2 separate regions of the Homo sapiens genome follow, and region 1 is linked to region 2. Evidence: promoter capture Hi-C in 16 types of primary human blood cells and fetal thymus (Javierre and others, 2016). All regions are on one chromosome and are shown on one strand. Each heading gives the region's core, a stretch centred on a gene start or on the middle of the fragment in contact. The rest is flanking DNA. Distances are from core to core; before and after follow the strand shown.

What was found. Contacts are between HindIII fragments. The CHiCAGO score rates a contact against its expected background, and 5 or more counts as called.
Region 1: a fragment that was not itself captured here is called in contact with the fragment with the promoter of KIF13A in region 2 in 2 of 17 cell types (monocytes and neutrophils); the score reaches 7.7 in monocytes.

The regions. Positions count from the first base shown.
Region 1 is chr6:17,932,712-17,936,263 of GRCh38, reverse strand. The region is part of intron 2 of KIF13A (kinesin family member 13A); the gene reads left to right. Among named protein-coding and RNA genes, the nearest start is that of KIF13A, 53 kb to the left of the region's middle. RefSeq lists a silencer at 1,909-2,093. The HindIII fragment of the contact is 2,077 bases long and covers 1,200-3,276 here.
Region 2 is chr6:17,986,292-17,989,396 of GRCh38, reverse strand. It overlaps KIF13A (kinesin family member 13A), which reads left to right and starts at 1,762. Exons shown (of 39, transcript NM_022113.6): 1 at 1,762-1,988; 2 at 2,253-2,343. The coding sequence starts at 1,934. RefSeq lists silencers at 1,187-1,686, 2,057-2,176. The HindIII fragment of the contact is 11,131 bases long and covers 1-3,105 here.

The sequences.
Region 1 (3,552 bases), core at 989-3,488, 54 kb after region 2:
TGAGGTGGGATCACTTGAATCCGGGAGGCGGAGGTTGCAGTGAGCCAAGATCCCACCATTGCACTCCCAGTTTGGGTGGAAGAGTAAGACACCGTCTCAAAAAATAAAAATAAAGTTAGGGGCAATGAAGAGAGGCTCAGCCCTCTCCCTGGATGAATTGTTCTGATAATGTCAAATTAACCTGGACTTTGACATAAGTAATATGAAGTTACTTTTAATCATTCATATGTGTTTGAGTTGGTCAGTGTGGGCTTTTTTCTCATTAGCAGAAATGTCTGTCTTTTCGTTAAGAAAAAAAACCTCTGTGCACAGTCAGCATAAGATGAAAGGAGCTATAGTTTAAAGAGAGGAAATATGGCTTTAAGATCTCTTCAAAGCCAATCAAACCATCAGATTTTATCTTAACTCAAGAATCTGGTTGGAAATGAATAATTTTATCTTTTTAAGAGCTTCATTTGTACTAATCAATGTAGTGTACATCAACTTTTGAGTTTTGAAAGTAACTAGCTTTTTGTTATATACTTGTAAAAATTGAAGTGGATAAACATTTTTGTTCACAAGGGTACAGTTTTATGAGACTGTCAAGGGTAGTTCCTCCTTTTCAGTTACGGAGAGAGAGCTACATTTTATGAGAGAATTTAAATTCCCCCTCCTTTTTATGGGAAATTGGTGCTTAGAGGTTCGTGGATCTGTTGGGGCAGTGGTTTTCAACACTGGCTACATGTTAGAGTCACTTGGTTGCTTGTAGAAAAATAGTTTGCACAGCCCCAGCCCCAGAACTGAGCTTCTGATCACTTGGCACAGACAAGAGAGCGCAGGATGTGTCGTTTTTCTCTGAACTGAGCCACTCCAACAGGTGGGGGCCAGGTAGGGACCATAGTGAGGACCCAGCTGCCTGCTGAGCTGAGCCAGGTCTCTGTGGTGCTGAATTTTCCTCTCTGATCCCATGGGGGCTCAGCAGAAATAGCTCAGGGCTTGAGCCTTAAACTGCCTATCCTTAGTAGGAATTATTCTTTGCCAAGGACAGTGTTTCTTCCAAGTCTGATTGTGACATTTATTCAGGACAGCTATAGAAAGCACAGATAAGAAAAAAATATTTCCAATCCCACTCATGAGAGAGAGAACCATTTTGGCCTTTTAGTATTCCTCCCCCTCCCCAGGTAAATGGTGAAAATAACACAACTAGCCAAAAATAAGCTTTTGTTATTAAATATTTATTTTGGGCCAACAAGTGAAGTTGCTGTTGCCCTTAGCGTGGTGGGAAGCCTGGAGCACAGGTGTAAAGGAACTTGCTTCAGGTATTGCAGTAATAAATCAATACAGGATCTGCCTCACTGCAAGGTAAAGGGACCCTTGTGAAACTGATATGTTTGGTTATTACTAGTGAAAATTGAGTCACATTTTACATTAGATGGTGGCCATATTTATGACAAACAGCACAAGAGTATTATTTTTAAGTGTCTTTTTTTTTTTTTTGGAGACAGGGTATTGCTTGGTTGCCCAGGCTGGAGTCAGTGGTGCAGTCATGGCTCACCACAGCCTCTACCTCCTGGGCTCAAGCGATCCTCCCACCTCGGCCTCCCAAGTAGGTGAGACCACAGGGATGTGCCACCATGCCCTGCTAATTTTTAATATTTTTGTAGAGACAGGGTTTCCCTATGTTGCCCAGGCTGGTCTCGAATTTCTGGGCTCAAGTGATCCTCTCTGCCTCTGTCTCCCAGAGTTTTGGGATTACAGGCATGACCCACGGTGCCTGGCCTTCGGCGTCTTTTTATTATGATATTATTGGGGATTCTGTATTTATGATTTTAGAATACTACCTGCTGGAATATTTCATTTGGCTTTTTAGCTTTGGGAGCATGTAGCATAGGGAGAGTTGAAAGTTCCTAATTAGGAATGGGATGGTGTTCAGCCGCTCTCGTCTGCACTTAAGCAACTGGTGTAGGTTTCTTTTCTTGCCTACCTGCAAGTGCACGCTACAAGCCGGGCCCTCTGCTCTGACCTCACACAGGTCACTTAAGAATTTGAAGAAGGCCAATGTCCTGTGGCCATTAGACAGTAGTGTGAGAGATGGAAAGAGGTGCCTTTTGTAATTACGAAGAAACTGTGTCCTGGTTTTTATGAAAATGCTTGTCTTTTTATTCTTTTCAACTTAAATGTTTACTTTTTCGCATTCTTCAAAAAAAAATAAAAGTTGACCCTAACGACACAATTTAGATTGAATTGAGTTATAAAAGGCAGCTTTCTTTATCTGTGAGAGAAAATATAACTTGAAATCCTATGTTTCCATAGTTACATTGCATTGTAATAAGATAAAAGCAGGACTAAGGGATATGTTTGAAAGGCGCTCCAGGAGCTGGCTGAGATAAATGTGATTATTAAGCCACTGTGCCAGGCTTTGGTGGGGAGCTAGGCAGGCAGGTCGAACTAGTTGAAATTTCCCATTAGAAGAAAGGCATTTCTAATGCTTTGTGTTGAAGGTAAAAGTGAACCACAGAAACACACTATTGCTTCTGCATTGGAAGTTTATATTTCACTCATACTTAGAATCAGAACTTGTTAAAGTAGTTGCTTTTGGAACTGTACATAATATTTTTCCCGTGTCAGGAAATCAATAAACTTAAAAAAAAATCTAAATTGTTGGTTTGATCATTCTGATTTCTACTCCTTCTTATGTCCCATTTAGTTAATTATTTTCTTTATTCAAAGAATACTGGAAGGCCAAAACATTGTGGCCCACACCTATAATCCCAGCACTTTGGGAGGCCAAGGCAGAAGGATCACTTGAGTCCAGGAGTTTGAGACCAGCCTGGGCAACATAGTGAGACCTTGTCTCTACAAAAAAAAAAAAAAAAAAAATGAGCTGGGTGTGGTGGTGCGTGCCAGCTACTTGGGAGGCTGAGGCAGGAGTATCACTTGAGCTCAGGAGGTTGAGGCTACAGGGAGCTCAGGAGGTTTCTAACAAAGAAAGATGCAGTTGGTATGCACTCTTTCTTGGTTAAGAGGAGAGATTGCCAACCAGTACATCTTTTATAGGTGCTGTAAAATCATGTTATACCTGCACTTTCTTGGGTTTCCTTTGTTCCCATCACTTGACAACTCTTAAATTCATGTTCTCCAGCCATTCTTTTCATTATTAATAGAAGAGAAACTGGGCCCAGGAAGGTTCAAGGATATGGCCGAGGTCACAGAGCCTTTCTCTTCTTTTAAAGAAACAATGATACACTTTAGATATTCTTATCTTACTGTGAATTAATTTTTTTTTCTAATTAAGCTTTTTGGGTGACCTTGAGCAAATGAAAAGCTTGACTTTTTCCTCTGCTTTACCGTATTGTGATTTCCTTGGGGTTGGCAGAGATTTGGAAAGGGATGTATTCCAGAACTGGAAAAATAATTTGGCCAAATTAAGCAAAATCTCCATGGGATGTTGGTGCCACTTACCCCAGTTTTTTTTTTTTTTCTTTCCATTCTCACAGACTTCCTCCTCGCTTCAACCCTCTCTCTGCTATCTGAGTCAAGGCCTCTGGCCTGCATACAAGCTGTAGGAGCTTG
Region 2 (3,105 bases), core at 513-3,012:
AACAAGTGAATGGACAGGTAAAGTGAGATTGCAGCAGCAGGAATGGAGAGGAGGAAAGATGCAACAGGCCCTTCAGAGGTAGACTGAGATAGCTGGCTCTACAATAAGGTGGGGCTGAAGTATTTGTCCTTCAGTGTACACAGGGGACTGGTTCCAGGAACATCCAAAACCATGCATACTCAAGTCCCACAGTCAGCTCTGCAGAACCCACAAATAGGAAAAGTTGGATCTCTCAGTTTTGAACCTGCCAAATACTGTCTTTTCTTTTTTCTCCCTTTTTTTTTTTGAGACAGGGTCTTGCTTTGTTGCCTAGGCTGGAGTGCAGTGGTGCGAACATGGCTCACTGCAGCCTCAACCTTCCAGGCTCAAGTGATCCTCCCACCTCAGCCTCTCCAGTAACTAAGACTACAGGCACCTGCCACCATGCCCGGCTATTTTTTAAATTTTTATGTTTGGCAAGATGGGGTTTCTTTACATTGCCCAGGCTGGTCTCGAACTCCTGGCCTCAAGTGATCCTCCCGCCTCGGCCTCCCAAAGTGTTGGGATTACAGGCGTAAGGCACTGTGCCAGAGCACGAATACTGTATTTTCAATCAGATTTTGGTTGAAAAAAAGCCACGTGTAAGTGGACTCGTGCAGTTCAAACCCGTGTTGTTCGAGGGTCAAGCGTAGCATCACCTCGGTTGGAGGCGGACGGACCCCTCTCCTAGCACCTGCCGTACACTGTCTAGCATAATAAGTCTCCACGCCCTCTCTTCCACCTTAGCGTGTGCCTCTGCATCATGCTATTCATGTTTCTGTGTGTCCTCAACAGCACCCTGCACACAGTAAAACCTCAATGCATCTTCCAATAAGTGGATTTCTAGATTTAAGCAAAATCGAAAGATTCCTGGATCTAAACTCTGGATTTTTGACTTCTGTACGCTTCAAAATGCCTGGCACTCGGTGAGCGCCCCTTAAGCACTTGTTGAACCAAACAGAATAAATCGGATTCGCCCAGTTCCGCCCTGGCAGCGAGGTCTGCATTTGGCAGGATGACAGAATCCATTGCTATTAAATTCTTATGTAAGAGTTAATGGCCCTCCCAGCCCACTTGACATCCCTCCCGAGACAAGAGAGGCCGGGAAAGGAAGGGAGAGCACTATTTACAAACATACACTGTTTCGGTGGTGGATTCACAGATTCATTTCTAGTCTCGGTTCACCACAGAGATCTTAAAATACCGCTGCAGGCTCCGTGTGGGACAGAGGGGGCGGCGTGCCGGGACTCGGAGGGGAAGGCCTGCGCACCCAGCGCGGCGAGCCGTGGTCCTTGCTGCCGTCCCGGGGCTCCGGGTGGCAGCGGCCCCAGAAGGCGGCTCGAGCTCACGGCGGTGTCCGGGGGGGGGCCCCGCGGGCGCCGGTGCAGGCTTGGCCTGGGAGGTCCCCTGGGGAAACAATGCGTCCCGCCCCGGACTCCAGCCTCCCCTAAGCGCCGCGCTGCTCGCCGCTCCTCTCACTGCCGTCCCGCCGCTCCAGGGGGCGCCGCGCGTGGCCGTGTCCGGCCTCTCCCGAGCCCCGGCGGGTGACGGGCGCGGAACATGGCGGCGCGGGGCCCCGGGCAGCCGCGAGGGGCCGCGGCGCTGCGGTCTCGGCTGGGGCGGCGCGGCTAGAGCTGCGCCTGGGCCCGCCGGCGAGGCCTCCTCCCCGCCCGCCGCCGCCGCCGCCGCCGCCGCGCCCCGCCCCGCGCGCCCGCCCCTCCCCGGGCCGCGGCCGTGCCCCGCGTCGCGCTCCCCCGGGATGGCCCGCGCGCCTCGGCGCTGCCTCTCGGAGCTCACGGCGGAGCGGCGGCGGCCGCGCTCGAGGGGCGCGCGGCTGCAGCGGCGGCGGCGCCGCGCGTGAGGGGCCGCCTAAGGCCGAGCGGGCGCGGCGAGCGGCCGGGCGAGCGCAGCCAACATGTCGGATACCAAGGTAAAAGTTGCCGTCCGGGTCCGGCCCATGAACCGACGAGGTGAGGAGCTTTCCGCTCTTTTTTATTTCTGCTCGGGCTGAGGGCGGGGGCAACTTTAGAAACTGCGGGGCCGGGACGGCGAGAGCGCGGCCGGGGCCGGGGGGCCGGGGCGGAGGCGGCGTCCGCGCTGGCCGTGGTGCCCGGGGCGCCGTCTCCAGGCTCGGCCGCCTCCAGGGACGGAGCCCCGCTCGGCGCGGCTGGCGGGCGGGCGGGCTGGAGGCGCGGATGCTGGACTTTGCAACGTCCCTTTCTCTCTGCTTTCAGAACTGGAACTGAACACCAAGTGCGTGGTGGAGATGGAAGGGAATCAAACGGTCCTGCACCCTCCTCCTTCTAACACCAAACAGGGAGAAAGGTAAAGCGGGTTCCGAGAGGGCGGCTGGGAGGATCCAGCCTCGCGGGGTCCCGCAAGTTTGAGCCAGGAAAATGGGAGTGCTCTTTCCTATTGTTAGGAGGACGGCTTCAAGTTTGTCGCCGGCTCCTGTTTGAAGCTGTTGCAAGTCCAAGTTCCTCTCCTCCCTCGCCCCCCTTCTCCTCCATCTAGAGCGGCGGCAGGCAGGGCACCCTGGCCACAGCACCAGTCAGCTGAGCCCGGGCGGGCTGCGAGGCACCCGGGAGGGAGAGGGCCGGATGGGACCCCATAGGTGATTCGTCCAGCGGCCACATTTTACAGACAGGAAAACTGAGGCCCGAGGCGGGCAGGTGACCAGCCCACGACCTTATTGTTCGTGGAACCCAGTGTCCGTGATTCTTTTCATCACTGCAGGGTTTGTTTCCTTTGGCAGAATTGTTTAGGGACAGTGTGTCTAAAATGGGAGGAAAAAATAAAGCAAAAGTCTTGTACGATGTAGACTCAGGCTGGACTAGTTAGTATCTATTTTAGTTGTTGTTGCTGAGTTGAGATAATGCCTCAATGTAATGCGCGAATTTTGATTTTCAAAGAAACAAAAGTAGGGCCCTGAACTGTATAGACACTGAGGGATGTTTAAAAAGGGGCTGTATTTACTAGATGGCAACATATTTGCATTTGAAAAGTGGTAACTGTTGGATCCTTATTAATTCCGTTCTGTTCCATGCAACAGTATGGGTTAACGCCCCAAAATAATTTGAATATTTG